2 separate regions of the Homo sapiens genome follow, and region 1 is linked to region 2. The links are contacts of gene promoters, found by promoter capture Hi-C in blood cells and fetal thymus (Javierre and others, 2016). All regions are on one chromosome and are shown on one strand. Each heading gives the region's core, a stretch centred on a gene start or on the middle of the fragment in contact. The rest is flanking DNA. Distances are from core to core; before and after follow the strand shown.

Region 1 (4,524 bases), core at 301-2,800, 3.5 Mb after region 2:
GGTTCGTGAGATTTCATGAAGATGGCGCCAGGACGAAGGCCCTACTGGGCAAGGTAAGGCAGCTGCGAGTCGGAGCGCGGACACCGTCTCCCTGGCCGGCGCCGCGCTCGCCCCGGGCCCCGCGGCCGGGTCTGTGCTCATTGTGGCCACGGACGATGGTCGAGGGGCTTCCGGAAACTATTTCCTGCCTCTGCTCTCCCCCCACCCCCGGGTACCCTGCTTGCTCCCTTGCGAAATCGCTCTTTTCCTCTTGTAGCTGGAGGAACAGAGACGGGATCGCTTTGGGGCCGGGCTCAACTGGGTCGACACAACTGCCTGCTATTTTACAGCTTTTTGAGGGTAGGCCGATGATCTTCGAGGTGCCTGTTTAGGGTCAAGGGATCGTGAGTGTGTTCAGATTTTCCCAAATTTCGGACTTAACTTGCCTCTACGGGTTTAAAAAAATTCTTTTCCTTCAAGCAGGCTGTTCGTGATGCCTACTGCTAACCAAATGTTTTAGGCTTTCTTGTGTCCCCGCTCCCAGAAGGGGGAAGTTTCACGGAGTTTAGGTCGGTGAAGAGTTTGCATTGGGCTGTTGACATGTATCTCGATTGCAGTGTGTGTTACCTGAAGTTAGGTGACTTGTTTACTTTTTGGGTCTTTTTGGCATAGAAATACCGTAGTTATTTGTAAACGTGTTCTCTTCCTGGAGCCTCATTTCCTGTGTGTCTGACAGGGGAGGCTGGGGAGGATTCGGGGTGTAGTCTTTTTTTATTTGTGTGGAAAGTTGTTGGCACTGTCATTTAGTTAAGTAATGGCTGCTCCTATCGGCCCAAGATGGCGGGACAGGGTGGGAGGAGAAAGTGAAGGGGGGGGTTAGGGGGAGGGTGTAGAGGTAAACATGGAAATAAATAGTAGCCGTGAATAAGCCTTTCCTTCGGAGTGTGTAGCTCAGTGGTGTTTAAAAAAAATTACCCAAGATTATTTGCATATAGAATTCTTATACCTTTCATAAGCTTGGAAGCAGCATGCATAAGCCTGGTAAATGCTTATCAACCTGTAGCACATTTAGTTATCCATCTGTAAGCTATTGAACAAAGGCTGGAGTCTCAATCTGTATGCATCAGTTTATATTTCCTGACCAAAATCTGATTGCAATGGTATTTGAATACTTTCTTCGTAATTGGGACCGTGAAAGTTGGAGTGTGTGCTATGGGTGTTGTATCCGTTAGACATTTTCTTTTCTAGCTGAAATCATAGCTTTGCATTTGACACCTAGCTTTATTGTTGCAGTTGAGACGCAAGTTTGAAATAAGTCTAACATTTTATTCTTAAGTTGATTTTTTTGTTGTTCTGAATTTTTGTCTGTAGCTTGGTTTCGCAGAGTCATCAATTCCTTTTTATCTGTAATTACACATTTGTTTTTATTTCAAAGTAATTATAAGGTGTTATATTGCATATAATCAGAAAACTAAATGGAAATAATGCTTTTCAGTAAGCCCGGCCCCTTTGACCGATACAGAAAACTTGAATTAAACTTTGACTACGTAGGTATTAATTGGCTTCATTACAATTATTGCTGTAAAAATGAACAGTGACTAGCTCTGGAAAGATTTAAGCGTCAGTAATTGTTGGTCTCCTGCCTTAAAGTTTTTTTTTTTTTTTCCAATTTGAGTATTTAAAGTATTTTATTTAAAAATATTTGACTGCTGTCAAAGTTGTCATTATAAAAGATTAAACATGATTTAAATTAAAAGAGCATTATTTTGTTTTGGAGGGATTATTGTTGGTCTAACATGGGTTAATAAAATTGCTTGCAAAGATAATTCACGTGGAAAAGTTTGGCCAAATCGATTGCTTTTGGTTATGGTGATGAAAAAATAAATGGAATCTGATGTTTTATGTTGAGAATGTGTAAAATGCTAGTTGATTTTATGTCTTAGAATGCTCATATTCATATAGATTCACTGCGAATAGTGCTTAACATTGGATTTCGGATTGTAATATTAAACCCTGCAGTTATGCACTAACGAGTTTAAATTTTAAAAAAGTAACCATTTTCAAATATTCTTGGCAAGTTGTGCATTACTTGATGTTTGAATACATCTTAAAAATGAAAAACTAGTGAAGCTTCACTATGTTTGGGGCCTTCATGATATATGGGGTAATTTGATGAACGATTAAGCAGTTTGTTAAACTAAAGAAAAAAAAATCTTCACTGCTTCAGACTCAGTGCTTGTGAGGTGTCCTACCTGCTTAGGACAAGATTCATCAGCCTTAACATTAAAATAAAACCTTCTGTAATATGTGCTTGCAACCGCATATAGTTCTTGGTTGCATCTTTGTGAGCCTGAACATACCAGTGGGGTGTGTAATGTAAAGCCTGACATTATATAACTTCGCACCCTCTGTTTGAATTGGGTTCTGAATGAAGTGAATGAGCTGGAGTCCTGCTGTAGGAAGTCTTGAATTATTTAGTTTCATCCTTCTTTTAACAGTCCTCGAAGCAGTATTTTTTTGTTTTTTATTTTTATTTTTTGTGGAATGTTGAGCTATGTTGGTTTCAGAATTCTTATTCCCTGAAAGTCTTAAGAGTTGGCTTTCCTTTACTGGGCAGGTTTAGGCTACTTACCTGAGGGCAGATAATGGAATTGAATAACTCCCAGAATTCCCTTTTTAGCTTTGATTTTTGTCCTGCCATGCCCCCCCACCCCCAACCCCCCGGCCCCAATTTAGTCTGCACTTTGTATAACGTTTTCCTTTCTGGCAGAAATTTAGCTATTACTACTTGTTTTCAAAAATTCTTATTCCTATGTATATTATTGGATTTTCTTTCAAGTTTTTAAAATTCACATTTGTATGTTAAAAAAAACTCTTGACCTAAAAGCTTTAGAAAGTTGAAAGCATTAAATATGTCTCTTACTTGTCCCTTAACATATGTACGTATACATATATACACACGTGTACATATACATATATACACACGTATACATATACGTATACACACATATACATATACGCATATACACACGTATACGTATATACGCACGTATATGAATACGTATATACACGTATACGCATACGTATATACACACGTATACGTGTATACATATATACATGTATATACATACGTATGTATATGCGTATACACATATATGTATATATATGCATATGCGTATGTATACGTATGTACATATCTATATGTGTATTCCTTTTCCAGGTGTGCAGTTTATTCAAACCACTGATTTCTCATCGTCTCCCGAATGTTTTTGTCAGATTCAGTTATATTAGAGTCATTGAAAGAATTTTTTGTTTGTAGGATGGCCATTTGATATACAATGCCTGGGGTTTTGGATTAAAAAAATAAGGTAGTTAATACAATGTATTATTTTTTGGTAATGTCTTTAAGGTTGTAAACAGCTAGAGCCTGCGTAATTAGAGTTCTTGTGATATAGGGTGATCTTGAACAGTGCTCTTGAATGCTGACCCTTAATCTTCTGGTAATGTAATAATTCAAGATTCTTATTTTTAAAATTTCAGTGGAGTTATCGAAAACTAAGCAAAATATTTTAACAGAAATTAACTTGTGACTTTTTTAGTACATTTTTGAAAACCTTTTGGGTTTTTTTTTTTTTAAGTAGGGTAAGGATTTGAGTTAAAGTAGAATATATACGAATATATACCATAAATGTAGTAAGTTTAAATATAGTAGTACTACCAAGTATAGTTATAGTAATAATGCTAGGGGACTGGGGAATCTTATCTGCGTCAGGGAACTATTGCTAAAATACACAGTTTTGAACAAAGTATCTTATTTTTAAGTTTTTCTTAAATACTCTTATTGGAAATTTTTTTGGTAATTCTATTAGTAGAAAGATTATACAAAATACTTAGAAGTTATAGATTGTATATCACTTAAAAATGTATGTGCTTTTTTCCGTAGGACATATTAGCATTAAAACAGTTGGTGTTTTAAATTTTTTTGATAATAGAAGTAGTTTAAGATCCATTGAAACATATTTTCTTAAATTTGGTTTGCTGGCGTGTTTGGTAGGGGAAATTATTAGGTCAGTTCTAGAGGTGGCTTTTTTAAATTGTAATATTTGGATGTTGATTAAAAACATTCTCATTTATGTGTGTTTTTTGTTTGCTGGCACTTAAAGGCATACAGGTTGAGTATCCTTTATCCAAAATGCTTGGAACCAGATGTGTTTTGGATTTGGGATTTTTTTGGGTTTCAGAATATTTGCAGAATACATACCAGTTGAGCATCCCTAATCTGAAAATCTGAATTCCAAAATGCTCCAATGAGCATTTCCTTTGAGTGTCATGTTGGTACCCAAAAAGTTTTAGATTTTGGATTTTCAGATTAGGGATGCTCAACCTGTAAATTCATTTCCAGTGCTAAAGATGGCTAGTGTTTTGGTTAGAAAAGTCATGAGAGCCTGTCTCAAAAAACAAAAACAAACAAAAAAAGAAAGTAGCCATGGAAATAATGTCATGCTTTGTGTTTTAAAGAGTTTTCTAGTTTGGAAGATTGTCTTC
Region 2 (4,807 bases), core at 1,999-4,498:
TGTTGCAGGAAGTACATTTGCTTCAATATGAACAGTTAAAATGCCTGGAAACATTAAGAAAGGGAGCGTGCAAAAAAAAATTTCCCTGGTTTCAGCCATTTCTTTCTTTTTTTTTTTTGGGGGGGGGCGGAGTCTTGCTCTGTCGCCCAGGCTAATTTTTGTATTTTTTTTAGAGACGGGGTGTCACGGTGTTAGCCAGGATGGTCTCAGTCTCCTGACCTCGTGATCCGCCCGCCTCGGCCTCCCAAAGTGCTGGGATTGCAGGCGTGAGCCACCGCGGCCGGCCTGGTTTCAGCCATTTCTAACCCTTTTTTAGGTCACTTCAAATAAAATTTGCAAATAACTGCCATGTGGAGAAAATATGCAAATGTTGCTAAACGGAAAAGTCATTCGGAGTGCTGTGAAAGTTGGCTCATTTATTTAGCTGCCTCAAGTGTGCACATCATTCTTTTTCAAAGTGAATGTGTTTAAAGACAAAGCTTTGTATGTTTTCCCGCTTCCTCTCCAATTGGATATTCCAATTATAACGTATTGATTAACAAAATACCCTGGTGGTTTGAACCAAGTATGCCTATGAGCAGGGGTTAATTGAAAATAGGGAACTGCTGTATATTTCAATTCTTTTAGGTACTCCCATGGCGGTACCCTGTACTCGGCTCTACTCAAAAGTAAAACAAAGCCCAGAACCAGGGTAGTCAGTGCATCCCATTGTTGCTATATGCAGTTTGAAGAGCTGTCGGAACTCACAGTTTTCGAACCTGACTCATGTTTACCCTGGTTCATAGGAAAACGAAACTGAAACAAAACCGAGGTCCTTCACCAAAACTCCATGAGAATCCACGAATCTCAGGGCAGGAAGGGACCCTAATATCATTAAACCTAGTGGCTCTCCAAGGGGCATTGTAGAAATCTGTGTATTTCTGGTTGTCACAATGACTGGCGAGAGCTACTGGCATTTAGTGGGCAGGAGCCAGGCACGCTAGGATGTTCTATGATGCTGGTCAGTCCCACAGAGCGAATAATTGAATCACTGGACACATGTCGGTGAAAAACTAGTTCATTATCATCTAAGCCTAGAACTAACACTGTTTTACATATGAACACAAAGTATCTTTGCCCAGTTTCCATATATCCTGAATTTTCCACAAATGCAGGTACTGTTTCAATTGAAGGAAGATTGTACTGTTTTATTTAAAAATTATTAATAGTTCATCATTTTGGAAAATGAGGTTCCTAGTAGCAATGCTGCTCATGGAACTTGAGTTGTGAAATCAACACACCTTTCCAGTTTGCATTTGTGGCTCTACTGGGCAAGTGTCTTCCCACCAGTTAGTGTAGCTGTGCGGCGGCATTTACATATTATAATACATTGTTTTATTATAATCATTTTGCTTTCGTTTGTTGACAGATCATGTTTTTTGAAATTGTGTTTGTAGGTTTACATAAACAATTTAGGTTTTGTTATTTCAGTATAGGTAAAGGGGGCGTTAGAAAATACTCGTTATGAAAAGGAGTTGGGTCTTTCACAGGGTTATGGAATGTAGCAGACTCCTTTTATAGATGAGCAAATTGAGACCCAAAGCCGTTAAACAACTTGCCCCCGACAGTGTGATATTCTCTCCCTATCTCGTTCGAATTTCCGTCTCGATTTTAAAAATTGAGAAGGGAGAGAAGTTATGTGTATAGTAAATTATGTGATGAGCACGAACTATTTGAATTCTGGCAGCAGAAGACCTTTTGTGGGGGTGGTGGAAACCACTGCGTTTTATTTAATTTCGTAGGGCTGAGGGTCAGAAGAGAGGGGAAAGCGGTCATAAGAAACTACGGATGTGCGGGCGCCGGCTCAAAGCCGGGAATCCACTAGTAAACACCTTCTTCTATTTAAGGGCCTGCGGCACCGAAGCCGGGACTTGGGGTGGCCTGCCTAGGAGGGAACCACAGGAAGAGGTTCCACCGACGGTAGAAACCCGGTTCCTCCTGTTCCTCATCCACCGCAGCGGCCTGAGAGTCACCCCGAGCCCAGGCCGGTAACCCCGCTGCAGCCCCTCCGGCAGGCCCAGGTTGCACCGGCTACAAACATTCCCGACACCCTTGGGCCCTAGAAGAGCCGTTCGCCACCCGCGGGGTCCCCGCAACGCCGGTGGTCACCGGCCCTAAGCCGCTGGGCGCCCCGCGGGAGGAAACTAGGGGCAAATGTAGCCCGCATTCCTGCGGAGAGCCGGGGTCCCGGGAGGGCGCGCCAGCGGCGGTTCCGGATCAGCGCGTGTCTGTCTCATTGTTCCCTCACCGCGGGGGGCGGGGGCGGAGGCGCGCGCGCACACGTCGGGGGGTTGGCCAGGAGGGGCCATTGTGTGTTTCTAGGCGGCGCCCCCGCTGCCTAGGCAACCGCGCAGGAAGGTGTCCGGCCACCTGCGCGCGCCGCCGGCTCCCCTCCATTTCCCCCCGACTCCCGCCCCGGTCACCATCCTACCCTCCTCCCTCCTCCTTTCCCCTTACTCCGCTCCCCTCTTTTCCCTCCCTCTCCTCCCCTTCCCTCTGTTCTCTCCTCCTCTTCCCCTCCCCTCCCCCGTCCGGAGCACTCTATATTCAAGCCACCGTTTCCTGCTTCACAAAATGGCCACCGCACGCGACACCTACGGTCACGTGGCCTGCCGCCCTCTCAGTTTCGGGAATCTGCCTAGCTCCCACTAAGGGGAGGCTACCCGCGGAAGAGCGAGGGCAGATTAGACCGGAGAAATCCCACCACATCTCCAAGCCCGGGAACTGAGAGAGGAAGAAGAGTGAAGGCCAGTGTTAGGAAAAAAAAAACAAAAACAAAAAAAACGAAAAACGAAAGCTGAGTGCATAGAGTTGGAAAGGGGAGCGAATGCGTAAGGTTGGAAAGGGGGGCGAAGAGGCCTAGGTTAACATTTTCAGGCGTCTTAGCCGGTGGAAAGCGGGAGACGCAAGTTCTCGCGAGATCTCGAGAACTCCGAGGCTGAGACTAGGGTTTTAGCGGAGAGCACGGGAAGTGTAGCTCGAGAGAACTGGGACAGCATTTCGCACCCTAAGCTCCAAGGCAGGACTGCTAGGGGCGACAGGACTAAGTAGGAAATCCCTTGAGCTTAGACCTGAGGGAGCGCGCAGTAGCCGGGCAGAAGTCGCCGCGACAGGGAATTGCGGTGTGAGAGGGAGGGCACACGTTGTACGTGCTGACGTAGCCGGCTTTCCAGCGGGTATATTAGATCCGTGGCCGCGCGGTGCGCTCCAGAGCCGCAGTTCTCCCGTGAGAGGGCCTTCGCGGTGGAACAAACACTCGCTTAGCAGCGGAAGACTCCGAGTTCTCGGTACTCTTCAGGGATGAGTCATGTGGCAGTGGAAAATGCGCTCGGGCTGGACCAGCAGGTGAGCCGCAAGAACCCCACCGGGCTGGCTGCTGCGTGAATTCCTCCCCTGACCTAACCTGGCTAATGGCGCAGCGCTAACCGGCACCCTTACTTTTCATTTTCTGGGTGCCCCGGGCTGGCGGGTGTGAGTGCCCCGGGGCTATAGAGGGATAGGAATGTTGGTTGGGGCTGTCGCCCGGGCCCGGTCTCGGCCCGCTGTATTGTCCCCGGGACGAGCACAATGGCGGCTTTTGTGTGTGCGTGCGCAGGCGGGCGGAGGGGGAGGAAGTGCGCGCGCTCTCGCGGGGACGCGCATGCGCGAATCCCGACTGATTAGTGACCTGGGGGGGTTTGCGGGAGTGCGCAGCGCGGCGGGACGCGACTGGAGGCCCTTTTGGCTTGGAGGGCTTCGGCCTTCACGGCTGGCGCAGCCTGGATTCCCGTCCGGAGGACCTGGCGGCACCCGGTGTTTGCGTGCCTGCGAGCAAGGGGTAGAACGCGGCCCAGGAATGTGGGAGGGGGCGGCCTTCGCTCGGGGTAATGGCGGCGGCCTCTTTTGTGTGGTGCTGGGCGGCGCTGTGGCTCACCTCCGGGAGACGGCGGGTCTCGGGCGGGCGAAGGCCTGGAAAGGAGGATGGAATGGGTTTCTTGTTTTTTCCCGGGTTCCTTCCGCTGGCTTTTTCGCTTCAGCCCAGGTTCCGCAGGGTCCGGGGGCCCTGCGCCGCAGCCGGGGAGGCTGCGTTTCCGGAGTGGAAAGTTTTGTGACGCAGAAGATTGGGGAGGAGTGGGGGAGGGGTGGGGGCGGGGAGGGGAGGCAGGAATTGGCCGCTGCGCGCTGGGCCCTGGAGATAGAGGTTGGACGTGGCGGGGAGGTTAGGGAGCCAGCGAGGCCCTTTCTCCTCCTTGCTTGCCCCAGATTGTCCCTGTGTGGTATGTTAGCCGGGAGTCCCGCGTTGTTTTTCTGGGGTGGAGGGGTCATCGCGGGTTGTGGTAGTGTCTTCGTGTTAGTGACTGTGATCCAGGAATCCGCCATTGGAAAAACACCCGGCTTAGGGGGGAAGTAAACAGTTTTGTTGTTGACTTGTTGCTATCTGTGGAGTAGAATCTTGCAATGGGTCCCAGGCCCCCGGGTTTTTTCTCTTAGCCAGAATCCCCTCTTCTAAGGGTTTAGGGGCAGAGGAGAGAAAGATGTGTGATTTGAGAGGAGAAGGTTATGGACTTTGGTGGCAGGAAGTCTGCATCCCACCGCAACAGTGGCACCAGGCTTCAGATAAGCTCTTGTGTGGGTTATGCGGAGCTTTTAAATAAACTACTGTCTACTGTGATTAGGGGAGCGTTGATTTCACAAACTCCGGAATAATCCTGAGACGAAGTTTAGTGGCACAAATTAATTGAATACATAGTTTAATGTAGTCATATGTAATATTTTTTAGGAATTGATC

Evidence for each region. Contacts are between HindIII fragments. The CHiCAGO score rates a contact against its expected background, and 5 or more counts as called.
Region 1: a fragment that was not itself captured here is called in contact with the fragment with the promoter of DDX3X in region 2 in 1 of 17 cell types (fetal thymus); the score reaches 9.2 in fetal thymus.

Annotation. Positions count from the first base shown.
Region 1 is chrX:44,873,935-44,878,458 of GRCh38, forward strand. KDM6A (lysine demethylase 6A) reads left to right here. Exons shown (of 30, transcript NM_001291415.2): 2 at 1-53. Among named protein-coding and RNA genes, the nearest start is that of KDM6A, 3.0 kb to the left of the region's middle. RefSeq lists silencers at 1-23, 64-143, 154-253. The HindIII fragment of the contact is 1,114 bases long and covers 994-2,107 here.
Region 2 is chrX:41,330,914-41,335,720 of GRCh38, forward strand. DDX3X (DEAD-box helicase 3 X-linked) reads left to right here and starts at 3,249. Exons shown (of 17, transcript NM_001356.5): 1 at 3,249-3,384. The coding sequence starts at 3,340. RefSeq lists a silencer at 2,070-2,559 and an enhancer at 2,650-2,879. The HindIII fragment of the contact is 5,677 bases long and covers 478-4,807 here.